Linked DNA regions of Homo sapiens: region 2 is linked to region 1. The links are contacts of gene promoters, found by promoter capture Hi-C in human tissues and cell types (Jung and others, 2019). All regions are on one chromosome and are shown on one strand. The core of a region is centred on a gene start or on the middle of the fragment in contact, and the rest is flanking DNA. Distances in the headings are between cores, read along the strand shown.

Region 1 (6,743 bases), core at 3,660-6,159:
TCCACCCACCTCGGCCTACCAAAGTGCTGGGATTACAGGCCTGAGCCACTGCACCCAGCCAATTTCCCCTTTTCTATGGCTTATTGTTTCTAACACTTTATTGTAAAATTTTTCAAACAGCCAACAAAATTGAAAGAATACCCTGTTACCCAACACCTAGATCCTAGTATTTTAAAAATTGAGATATATTTCACATAACATAAAATTCAACATTTTAAAGTGTACACTTCAATAGTTTTTAGTACTGTATATTCATTATGTTGTACAAACATCACCACTAATTTCAAAACATTTTTATAACCCCAAAAAGAAAACTCTTACCCATTAGCTGTTAGTCCTAATTCCCCCCTTCTCCCATCCCCTGGCAACCACTAATCTACCTTCTGTTTCTATGGATTTGTCTATTCTGGACGTTTCATATAAATAGAATTACACAATATGTTGCCTTTCCTGTCTGATTTGTTCACTCAGCATAATGTTTTCAACATTCATTCCTTTTGTAGCATGTATCAGTACTTCATTCCTTTTTATGGTGAATAATACTCCATCGTATGAGTATACGACATTTGATTCATCCATTTATCAGCTGATGAACATCTGAGTTGTTTGCACTTTTTGACTATCATGAATAATGCTGCTATCAACATTTGTGTACACGTTTTTATGTGAACATATGTTTTCAATTTTCTCTGGTATATAGCTAAAAGTAGAATGGATGGGTCATATGGTAACATTAACATATTACTATACATGTTTTATCACATATCTACCTGTCTAACTATCCTTCTAATCCATCTATATTAATCCTTCTCACATTTTACTGTACTTTGGAATAAATTGCAAACATCAGTACACCTCACTCCAAACTCATCAGCATGTCTATTACTATAATTCAAGCTTTCTTTACAATTTATTCTCTTCATGTAAAATCTACAATTTTTTTCTCTTTGTTTTTTTGTTTTGTTTTGTTTTGTTTTTGTTTTTTGTTTTTTTGAGACAGGGTCTCACTCTACTGCCCAGGCTGGAGTGCAGTGGCACAATCTTGGCTTACTGCAACCTCTGCCTCTCGGGCTCAAGCAATTCTCCTGCCTCAATCTCCTGAGTAGCTGGGACTACAGGCATGAGCCACCATGCCCTGCTACTTGTTGTATTTTTAGTAGAGACGGGGTTTCACCATGTTGACCAGACTGGTCTCAAACTCCTGACCTCAGCTGATCTGCCCACCTCAGCCTCTCAAAGCGTTGGGATTACAGGCGTGAGCCACCGCGCCCAGCCCACTCAATGAGTTTTAACACATGCCTAAACCTATGAAACCCAAATCAAGATATCAAGATTTAGAACATGTCCACCCTCCTGCAAGTTCCCTCTGTCTGTTCAGTGTCACAGTGTCAGTCCTGCCCCTGCTCTACCTTTTCCAAAGGCAACCAGTCTTCTGATGTTTTCCCCACCGTAAGTTACTTTCCCTGTTCTAGAACTTCATATAAACAGAAACATATGACATATATCCGTTTTTATCTGGCTTCTTTCACTTAGCATACTGTTTTTAAGCTTCATTCATGTTACTGCATGCAGCAATATTCAGTCCTTTCTGTTGCTGAACTGTTTTCTGTCATCATCCTGTGTGAATGTACAATAGGTTGTTTGTCCATTCACCTGTTGATGAACACTTGGGCCATTTCACTTTTGGCTTTTATGAATAAAACTCCTTTGATGTGAGCCAACATCGTGCCACTGCACTCCAGCCTGGGCAAAAGAGGGAGACCCTGTCTCAATTAAAAAGAAAAAAAAATATGCTATGATCACCTCCCTGTAGGCCTTGATGTGGGCCCATGTGTTTATTTCTCTTAGCTAAGTATCCAGGATTGAAACTGTGTTCCAGGACAGGTGTATGTTTCATTTTATAAGAAACTGTCAGGCCTTTTTCCAAGGTGGTTGTACCATTTTTCATGCCCACAACAATATATGAGGCTTATAAGTTGTGAGCCAAAGATAAAAATGCACAAATTGTAAACTGCTACTAATTATTTTCATTTGAAAATTTTAAGTAGGCCGGGTCTGGTGGCTCATGCCTGTAAATCCCAGCACTTTGGGAGGTCGAGGCAGGCGGATCACCTGAAGTCAGGAGTTCAAGACCAGCCTGGCCAACATGGTGAAACCCCATCTCTACTAAAAATACAAAAATTAGCCAGGCATGGTGGTGCACGCCTGCAGTGTCAGCTACTTAGCAGGCTGAGGCAGGAGAACTGCTTGAACCCGGGAGGCAGAGGTTGCAGTGAGCGAAGATTGTGCCACTGCACTCCAGCCTGGACAACAGAGCAAGACTCCATCACAACAACAATAACAACAACAACAACAACAACAACAAATGCCCAACAAACCAGGAATAGAAGGGAACATTCTTAACCTGATAAATACTATCTATGAAAAATCCACAGCTAACATCCTACCTAATGTTGTGAAAGACTGAATGTTTTCATCTAAGATCAGGAATAAGACAGGGCCAGGTGCTGTGGCTCATGCCTGTAATCTTAGCACTTTAGGAAGCTGGGGTGGGCGGATCGTTTGAGCTCAGGAGTTCAAGACCTGCCCGAGCAACATGGTGAGACCCCCTGGGTCTACAAAAAATACAAAAATTAGCCAGGCATGGTGGCTTGCACCTGTAGTCCCAGCTACTCAGGAGGCTGAGATAGGAGGATCAACTGAGCCTGGGGAAGTCAAGGCTGCAGTGAGCAGAGATCATGCCACTGCACTCCAGCCTGGGCCACAGAATGAGACCCTGTCTCAAAAAAAAAAAAAAAGAAAAAAAGAAAAGAAAAAAGAAAAAGAAGAGAAGCAAAACTATCTCTATTTGTAGATGACACGATCTTCTATATAGAAAATCCTAAGGAATCCACAAAAACAAGGTGATGAACCTTATGACACCCTGTAGAAATCCAGATTTCGTAGATTAGAAATCCAATGGCTTTGTTTAAACTGTCTCTTCCTCTGTTTTTACATTTTTTCCTCCACACTTGACAAAAACAAACCCAACTCTTTTTAAACCAACTTCCCTACCTCTTTCCTGCACTCATCCCTTCCTAAAGGTTTGCTCCTATAATTATTATCGTTGGAACTGCCCAACAAGACCCTCGTTTTCTATTTATCTGGATCTCCAGGCTCATTTCTTTCTTTGTATCCTATTTTCTATATCATGCTCAGAATTTTAAAGTTGCTTCCAGGCTGGGCGCGGTGGCTCATGTCTGTAACGCCAGCATTTCGGGAGGAGGGATTGCTTGAGTCCAGGAGTTTGAGACCGGACGGGCCAACATGGCGAAACCCTGTATCCACTAAAAATACAAAAATTAGCCAGGTGTAGTGGCGCGTGCCTATTGTCCCAGCTACTCGGGAGGCTGAGGTGGGAGGATCACCTGATCCTGGGAAGTCAAGGCTGCAATCAGCCAGATCACACCACTGCACTCCAGCCTGGGTGACAGAGTGAAATTCTGTCAAAGAAAGAAAAGAAAGAGAAAGAAAAGGAAGAAAGGAAGGAAGGAAGCGTATCTCCATTTTCATCCAAACAGGTATTTTTCTCTGCTACTACGTACCTCCTCAGAGCCCATCCCCCCTACTGGTCTGAGGCTTTTTTTTAAACAACTTTCTGGACATAGCCCCTCTTAAGACTAACAACCTATAGCCAGGCGTGGTGGCTCACGCTTGTAATCCCAGGATTTTGGGAGGCCGAGGCAGGTGGATCACCTGAGGTCGGGAGTACCAGACCAGCCTGACCAATATGGAGAAACCCCATCTCTGCTAAAAACACAAAATTAGGCTGGGCATGGCGGCGCATGCCTGTAATCCCAGCAACTCGGGAGGCTGAGGCAGGAGAACTGCTTGAACCCAGGAGGCGGAAGTTGTGGTGAGCGGAGATTGCGCCATTGTACTCCAGCCTGGGCAACAAGAGCGAAACTCTGTCTCAAAAAAACAAAACAAAACAAAAAGAGTAGCAACCTAGGCCGGGCGCAGTGGCTCACGCCTGTAATCCCAGCACTTTGGGAGGCTGAGGCGGGTGGATCACCTGAGGTCAGGAGTTCGAGACCAGCCTGGCCAACATGGTGAAACCCCGTCTCTACTAAAAATACAAAAATTAGCCGGGCGTGGTGGTGGGCGCCTGTAATCCCAGCTACTCGGAAGGCTGAGGCAGGAGAATTGCTTAAACGCAGGAGGCGGAGGTTGTAGTGAGTGGAGATCGAGCCACTGCACTCCAGCCTGGGCGATAGAGCGAGACTCCGTCTCAAAAAAACAAACAAACAAATAAACAAAAAGACTAGCAACCTCCTCTCCAGCAATGCCAACCCCAGTCCAGGCCCCCATCCGCCCAGGATCTCGATCAAAAAACATTAATCTGTGGCCTTTCTTTGCCATTTCCAACTCTGCCACCTCCATCGAACGACAAGGTCCCCTTCTTCCTTTCCATTCCCGTCAGCTTCATTTCCCTAATCTCCGTACAAATCCCTAGCCTGACTCCCTTTCCTTTCCATCCTCACCAGACGCCCGCATGCCGGACCTCAAAAGCGCAAACGCTAAAAACCGGTTGAGTTGACGCACGGAGAGAAGGGGTGTGTGGGTGGGTGGGTGTGTGTTAGTGTGCGTGCTTGCTTGTGTGTGGAAGAAACCAACAGGGTTCACGCTGGTGCCCATTTCTGGAAATGCCAATCGCGCCCGACTGCGGGAGCCAGGATCAGGTCCCCAGGGCGCCCTTGCAGACAGCACCCTGAGCGAAGGAGCTCAGAAGGCAGTCCGGCTTCACCCAGACCCCCAATCCCACAGAAGCGCCGTCCCCCAGCGGCACAGCACCCCCTCCCCGGCGCGGTGGTAGGGCCCGACGTGACGTCACCCATTGTTTACAAATCAACCCGAGCCGGCAGGATTCCGGCTCCCGCGGCTGCAGGCGCGCGGCTAGAGTGCCTGGCGGGCTCCGGCTTCCGCGTCCGCCCCGGCCCCGGTCCAGACTTAGTCTTCAGCTCCGCGCCCGCTCCGCCGCGGCCCACCGCGCCCGCCGGCAGCCGAGCCCCCAGCGACGCCCGCACAGCTCCGGGTGCCCAGACAGGGGGCCATGCCGTGCCGGAGGGAGGAGGAAGAGGAAGCCGGCGAGGAGGCGGAGGGGGAGGAAGAGGAGGAGGACAGCTTCCTCCTACTGCAGCAGTCAGTGGCGCTGGGCAGCTCGGGCGAGGTGGACCGGCTGGTGGCCCAGATCGGCGAGACGCTGCAGCTGGACGCGGCGCAGCACAGCCCGGCCTCGCCGTGCGGGCCCCCGGGGGCGCCGCTGCGGGCCCCGGGGCCCCTGGCTGCGGCGGTGCCGGCGGACAAGGCCAGGTCCCCGGCGGTGCCGCTGCTGCTGCCGCCCGCGTTGGCGGAGACTGTGGGCCCGGCGCCCCCTGGGGTCCTGCGCTGCGCCCTGGGGGACCGCGGCCGCGTGCGGGGCCGCGCTGCGCCCTACTGCGTGGCCGAGCTCGCCACAGGCCCCAGCGCGCTGTCCCCACTGCCCCCTCAGGCCGACCTTGATGGGCCTCCGGGAGCTGGCAAGCAGGGCATCCCGCAGCCGCTGTCGGGTCCGTGCCGGCGAGGATGGCTCCGGGGCGCCGCCGCCTCCCGCCGCCTGCAGCAGCGACGCGGGTCCCAACCAGAAACCCGCACAGGCGACGACGACCCGCACCGGCTTCTGCAGCAGCTAGTGCTCTCTGGAAACCTCATCAAGGAGGCCGTGCGAAGGCTTCATTCGCGACGGCTGCAGTTACGTGCAAAGCTTCCCCAACGCCCGCTCCTGGGACCTCTGTCGGCCCCGGTGCATGAACCCCCTTCGCCTCGCAGCCCTCGCGCGGCCTGCAGTGACCCTGGCGCCTCCGGGAGGGCGCAGCTCAGAACTGGCGACGGCGTTCTTGTGCCTGGCAGCTAACACGCCCGGGGTGGCCACAGCGCCAGCCTCAGACTGGAGGGCAAGGGGTTCCCTTGAGGGCTGCAGTTCTACTCAGGCTGGTGGAGAACTCTGGCTTTTGGAAGCGAGAGTAAAAAGCTAATGACGAGGAACCGAAAAATCGCGAGTGTTTCGCGGGTAACTGGGGTTGAGGGCCAAAATATTTGGAATGAAGGACTTTGGCCCTATTTAAGGCAGATTTTACAGAGCGCACCTCAAACGTACAAGTCAGTAGGACTCCTTATTTGGCGTGACCCGACCTGGCCGCGGAGCCTGCATTTCCTCGCAGCCTCTCAGTGCCCTCCAGCCCCGCGACCATGTGGCCACAATCCACGCTTCTCCGGATCGCGGTGCGCCGGAACCACGGAGGATGATGCCAGTTACTTGCTTTACCTTTTCAGGGCTGGCTCCTGATCCACTTTGGGGGAGGAGAACATGAGTAGATAATTTCAGGGTGCAGCCCAATCTGCCAGACTTAAAAAAACCATCTTGTGTCTTTGGAGGTGCTGCTTAATACCAAACATGCGGTGCCATGAAGGGACCCTTTGGGGGTTGAATAGGAGTTAACCCCTGCGCTCTCTTTGCAACTGTCTCTCTTCTCAGAGTGGTGGGGGAAGGCTGTACGACACGGGTGGGGAAAGGAGGTGGGGGCGGGGAGTATTGAATGGTGGTGGAAGGGTAGAGAGGCGCGGAGTGAACCCCACGCCCTGTCTAAAGTGTATTTTCAGAGCCGGCCCGCCTCTCCTCGGTTCAAGGTCACTGTTTCCTGGGCACGCACTGGGTTGCGGGACAG
Region 2 (6,275 bases), core at 2,964-5,463, 250 kb before region 1:
TCTCTATTGCTCTCTCTCTCCTGGATGTAGGCCCCATCTCCTGGAGGGGAGATGGTTCAAGCCTGCAGCACAGACACAGCTGTCCCTCCTCCAGAGCCGTCCCACCTGCTATCCCTGAGGCATCTCCCCTTCTTGTGGGGGAAGCTTCCTCCTCCCGCACTCGCCCGGCCCCACCTTCCCTTCCTGCTCTCCCCATGGCATCTTTCATCTTCGATCTTGGTTACTTGTGCCATATCGCCAGCTCCCCAGTGTAGTCTGTCAGTATTCCTGGAGACATTCCCCAGATTCCGCCCATTTAGGCTACTCCCCAGAGGGCCCCCAGTGGCCTACTCCCCGATGCCTGTCTTTATGCAGCAACTCCCCCAGCCCCATATGTCTTGAGAGGCTCATTTCAGTCTTTGCCTGCCTAATCCTTGTTATCATCTCTTCCTTGCCTAGAGAGTTCCTTGGCTGCCACATCCTCTTCTTAGTGTCTCTGCTTCATATAAGAAATTGCTACCCTGGTGGTGCCTGCCCTAATGGCTTGATGGTTCTCCTGGTCTGTGGACTTGTGGACTTGTTCTCTCCATCTTCCTAAGTGGGATGCTGCCACTGGGCAGAGTGGGCTGGCAGGGAAATTACTGGATTTAGAGCAGGGCTGTACAGGCCACACAGGTAAACAACAGACTGCCCACACTGGAGCTCATGGTCATGCGAGTTCCTCAGTAACCAGGAGCCCAGGCTGACATGGGAGCCCAACATGAAACCAAACTCACCTTGATGGAGTGCCCACAGGCACCAGTGACCGGGCTGGGCTTGTGGATGCAGAGCTAACCACAGGTGCATGGTCCACCCTAGAGCACTCATGCCCAGAAGAGGGCACAGATGGGAAACCAGTGAGTGGACCTTCAATCCTTCACCCCAGAAATGTGTACTGAAAGCTGATGGTCTGCTGGGGACCCCCAAAGACTTGCTTTCATGGGGTGTACATGCCAGCTTTCAACAATGGCTGGAGGAGCAGTACTGCCAAAGAGATGGGAGAGTGCAGAGAAGTGAGTGAACAAGTCCGCTGGAGGGAGGAGAGGTGATCTCTGACCGGATCTTAAAGAGTTGATGTGTCCCAGACAGAAATGGAAAATGAGGAAAGGGTGTTCTAAGCAGCGGTAACAGCATGTGCAGAAACCCAGAGACAGGAAGGAACAAGGCAGGCTGGGGGAATCTCATGTGGTTTCGTATGACTGGTGTGTGTACGTGGGAGGTTGTGGTAGTTAAAAGACATCCACAAATTCTTTGACATTCCTCCCTTCAAAAGACAGAGGCTCATTCTCTTCCTCCTGAATGTGGGCAGGACTCAGTAACTTACTTCTGAAGAACCACATATGATGGAAACGGTAATGGATAACCTCCGAGACTAGATCATAAAAGACACTGTAGCTCCCTCCTTGTTCCTTCTGGGTTTGCCCTCTCTGGGAGAACCCAACCCAGGTCATAAGGACACTCAAGCAGCTCTCTGGGGAGGCCCACATGGAGAGGAACCGAGGCCTCTCGCCAACAGCAGGCACAGGCTTGCCAGCCTGTGAGCCAGCCATCAAGGAAGTGCATTCTCCAGCCCCAGCCAAGCCTTCAGATGACACAACCCCCCAACATTGTGATGCAATCTCATGAAAAACCCCAAGCCAGAACCACCCAGCCACCTACAGAGACTGTGAGATGTTTATTGTTTGTTCTTGAAAGCCGCAGTGTTTTGAAGTCATTGGTTACGCACAATTGATGACTCATCCAGCGTTGCTTTGAGGCATGACCCTAAGGAAGGGAGGGGCATGCTTAGGCTCCAGGTTAATGGGCTGAAATCATGTTAGAGACTTGGCTACATCACTTCTTTTTGGGGGCCTCAGTTTCCTCATTTGTCCAATTCATAGGCTGGAGCAGAAGATTTCTAAGCTCTTCACCAGTGCAGACCCAACCACATGCCTGCAAGACACATTGCTATGGTCTGAATTATCGTTTCCTCTCAAAAAAGGCATAGGTTGAAACCTAATCTCCAATGTGATGGTATTAGGAGGTGAGGACTTTGGGAGGTGATAGGTCATGTGAGCTCCATCCTTATAATAGGATTAGTGCCCTTATGAAAGAGACCGCAGAGAGCTGCCTTGCCCCTTCCTCCGTGTGAGGACACAGCTAGAAGGCACTGTCTATGAAGCCGGAAGCAGCCTTCACCACACGCCAAATCTGCCAATACCTTGATCTTGGACTTCCCACCTCTAGAACTGTGAGAAATAAATTTCTGCTGTTTATAAGCCACTTGGTCTACGGCATTTTGTTTTTGTTTTTTTAGAGACAAGGTCTTGCTGTCACCCAGGCCAGACTGCAGTGGCACAATCATAGCACACTGTCACCTTGAACTCCTGGGCTCAAGCGATCCTCCCCACCTCAGCCTTCTGAGTAGCTGGGACTACAGATGCGCTGGGACTACAGATGCTCTACGGGTGGAGACAGGGTCTCATTTTGTTGCTCAGGCTGGTCTCAAACTCCTGGCCTCAAGTGATTCACCCACCTCAGCCTCCCAATACAATATTTTGTTATAGCAGCTGGAACAGACTAAGACACACATCAAGTGAGGTGGTTGCTTCTTTAGAGGATTTGGGGTCCCAGAAAGGAGGTGAGGAAAGTTGCTGGCCATACACCTACTGAAAGACGGGGTCTGGGGAGAAGACAGACACAGCCTGCCACCTTTGCTGACCCACAGGGACTCAGGGAGATGAGAGCATGTGCATTAAGAGCCAGATGGAGGCAGGAAGGAGTGGTGGCCTGAGGACGTCCACAGAGTCAGGAAGGCGGGACCTCCAGTGGGACCCTCATCTCAGCCCAGCCGACCACTCACCCTTTGGCCAAGCCTGGGAAGGAACGCTGGGCCGGCACTCACATCCATTCATTATTCCATTTAATCCTCACCACAACCCTGCAAGGAAGGTTTTTTTATTCGTATTGATTTGCTTATCGATTTAGACCCAACCTTGTTCTAGAAAGCCTTTAAGGTGGCTTATAGGGATTTTCAAAACAGCAAGAGAGCAAGAGTGAAAAATGAGGCACAGAGAAGAGGAGGAATCAATGGCGGGTACTAAGAATGCATGCACCATGTGACCACATGCCAGGCTGGGCTGAGCGGGGCTCTGAGCTTTCTCACTGAAAGCCAGCGTGAAAGGAGAGCCAGTCAGCTCACAGCGCCCACGGGACACGTATAAGTCTAAAAGGATCAGCTTCTCAGGAGTACAGCTGGTGTGGCACTCAGATGAGGCAAGAATTTTCCCAGGGGTGTTTATTAAAAATGACAGTGTAGCCTAATCAATAACACTAGATCCTTATAATTAATGGGGTTTGAGTGTCTGTTTCTTATAATAGCATCAAAGTACAATTCAGCAAATGCATTTCTATAAGGACTCACACCAGGAACTAAGTAGGGAAGAGGAAGAAGGCAGAGGCAGACTCCAGGTAGGCCCAGTCTATGCAAAGACGCTGGGGCATGAGAGAGCCTGGTATGACTGGGGAGGAGCAGAGGCTCTGGGAAGCAAGTGTCAGCTGGGAGAAGCCTCACACAGGCCGGGGAGAGTGATGGGATAGAACAGAGAGGGCTGTGATATGACCATCTTTTTAATTATTTTGTTTATTTATTTAGAGACAGCATCTCACTCTGTCACTCAGGCTGGAGTGCAGTCACTCAATCACAGCTCACTGCACTGTTGAAATCCTGGGCTCAGGTGATTTTCCTCTCTCAGCTTCCTGAGTAGCTGGGACTACAGGCGCATGCTACCATGCCTGGCTAATTTTTTAAAAAATATTTTTGTAGAGACAGGGTCTCACTATGTTGTCCAGGCTGGTCTCAAACTCCTGGGTTCAAGTGATCCTCCCTCCTCAGCCTCCCAAGTAGCTGGGACTAAAGGCACGGGCACTGTGCCCAGCTCTGACCATCTTTCAGGCTTTGTTCTGGGGCACCAAAGCTTAAAGAGGAAAGACACAGCCCCCAGGCAGGCAGGCAGCAGGTGATGCCAACGGCCATCAAGAGATAAGAGATGGCCCAAAGCTGGGTGTGGAACTGTCCCACCCTGGCCAGTCAGCCCACAGCCGGAACCAGCCCTCATCGTTTAAATGAAGACAGGAAAGTGAATTTGGGGCCCCAGGAGAGGCCAGAGGAAAACAGGTGAACCTTGGAAGCCTCAGGAAAATGCAGCCTGATGGCAGCAAAGCGGGTGGTAGAAGGAGCCTGCACCTGTAGAGAGAAGGACCAGGTTCAACTCCTGCTTCTGCTATTGACCAACCATGGACCTCGAGAAGTTCTGCACCTGAGAGCTTCAGGTGTCCTATTTGTAAAATAACTACCACGTGGGACTTTGGAGAAGATTGTGAATTGATGTACTTAAGCTTCTGAATCACAACCTCCATTTAGCAGCATTCAAGAAATGCGGGCTGTTGTCCCTGCCCGAAGCACAGCCTAAGCAACCCTAAGGCTCTGTTGTTTCAAGCTTTCCCACGAGGGGGCGCCAGAAGCCTTCCCTGGACCTGGATGCCTCAACCACATCGCAAACTAGCAGAACAAAGCTATTCTCTTTTTTTTTCTTTTTGCTCCAACTGACTTCCTACCTTGCCAATACTTGTCTCATCTTTCCCAAATCCCTTTGAAATAAAGTTTATCATGTCTTCTGCCCCTGGTCTGTGTGGAAACCCCCCAAAAGCACCACCTAAGCCTTTCCCCATCAGTTTTCCGGGAGCTCTGGGCCACCTTCATCTTCCTCAGACCCAGTCATTGCTGCCCGTCCTCCTCCCACGCGGCCTTGTCAAACGCCCTGAAGTGAGGAGATGGCCAGGATGTGTCTGGGCAGAATGAGACACCCTGAGAACTGCCGTCCTGGAAGCGGGCGGGATCTGCGACTGGAAGGACAAACAGCCAAGCCCAGGGCAGCCAGGGCCTGTCCCAGCCCGGGGAAGCGGAGCCAGACAGGGGTTCAGAAGGAGGGCAGGGGCAGGACAGTGACGAGGGCACCATGACAGATCCCCAGAGTCAGACCCAGGACAGCGCTGGGGAGATACAGGGCTGGGGCAGAAGCTGAAGGGCGGGACAAGGTCCCAGACTTCTGACAAGCACCTGGGGGATGCGGGGATGCTGGTCCAGGGAGCACTCACGGAGAGGCCAGGGTGCTGAGGACAAAGCCCACAGCTGGGTGTCACAGGGGAGACTTGGCTCCACTCACTTAAATCGTGTGGTCTCGGGCAAGTCATGTAACCTCTCTGGCCCCAGTTTTCTCATCTGCAACATGGGGATGGAAAGCGGCACTTATGTTGCAGGATCTGATGGGAGAGGTGCCGCTGCCTACTCCCTCACCTCTGCTGACATTCCTCCAGTTTCCCAGACCCCTCCTGACATCCACAGGACCTGTGTACTTGCTGTGGCTTCTGCCTGGGATACTCTTCCCTCACCTTCACCCAGGAAACGCTATTTATCCTTCACACCTCAGTCTACAAACACCTCCCCTGAGCCTGAGTCAGCTGCTCTATCTGCAACAGGCTCCTAGCACCCCCACTTTTACTTTTCGGCACAACCCAGGCTTGTAATAAAATACAGGTGCACCGAATGTGATGAAGTACTGACTCTGGTGAACGTCCATCTCCCTCTCCAGACCATAACCTCCCAGCAGACACTCTCCTTCACTTTCCCTTATATCCTGGCACATTGCAGAGACTTAGTAATTTTTAGCTGAATGAACTAAAATGGATCCTTACATGAGTCCTCTGCTCTAATCCCTCTCCGTTTTCCCGGCCAAAACAAGTAGTTAGGACTGGCCAAGGGAGAGGCAGGAGCTCAGGGCCAGACAGGCTGGCTGTGCATGGCGAGAGACCACAGCTCCCCACCTATGCTGCGGCCACTTGTACCTGCTCTGCCTAACCAGGCTGCAGACCCAGTGAGATGCAGGCTCAGAAGGGGAAGGCAGGCACGAGCAAGCACTTGTTATTGTGGATGATGTAACAATCGCACCTCTTCCCTTCACACATCCTTCAGGATATTAACAACCAACACCCTCAAGTGGTTCCAAGTTCACACCAGCTCAAGGCAAGGGCCCTGCAGACAAAGCATGAACCCCATTGCCAAGATCAAGCACCCCAGGAGGCAAGCTCCACCAAGAGCAGCCCCCACTTGGCCTGGAAGCATCGGGCAACCCCAGTCGGCCGCCCGCCCCTGAAGACAAGGGGGCCGCCAGGCCCACACCCTGACTTGGCACCATCCCCAGGCACCCTGCTCTGGCTGC

What was found. Contacts are between HindIII fragments. The study calls those that stand out against the background at their distance.
Region 2: a fragment that was not itself captured here is called in contact with the fragment with the promoter of FRAT1 in region 1 in 4 of the 25 tissues and cell types used here (hippocampus, lymphoblastoid cells, mesenchymal stem cells and 1 more).

Annotation. Positions count from the first base shown.
Region 1 is chr10:97,314,362-97,321,104 of GRCh38, forward strand. It overlaps FRAT1 (FRAT regulator of Wnt signaling pathway 1), which reads left to right and starts at 4,910. Exons shown (of 1, transcript NM_005479.4): 1 at 4,910-6,743. The coding sequence starts at 5,093. The coding sequence ends at 5,932. RefSeq lists enhancers at 4,224-5,013, 4,751-5,045, 6,135-6,294 and silencers at 4,885-5,194, 5,695-5,794. The HindIII fragment of the contact is 12,338 bases long and covers 3,666-6,743 here.
Region 2 is chr10:97,068,526-97,074,800 of GRCh38, forward strand. All of the region lies in intron 4 of SLIT1 (slit guidance ligand 1), which reads right to left. Among named protein-coding and RNA genes, the nearest start is that of SLIT1-AS1, 31 kb to the right of the region's middle. RefSeq lists an enhancer at 1,270-2,469 and a silencer at 4,307-4,601. The HindIII fragment of the contact is 4,308 bases long and covers 2,060-6,275 here.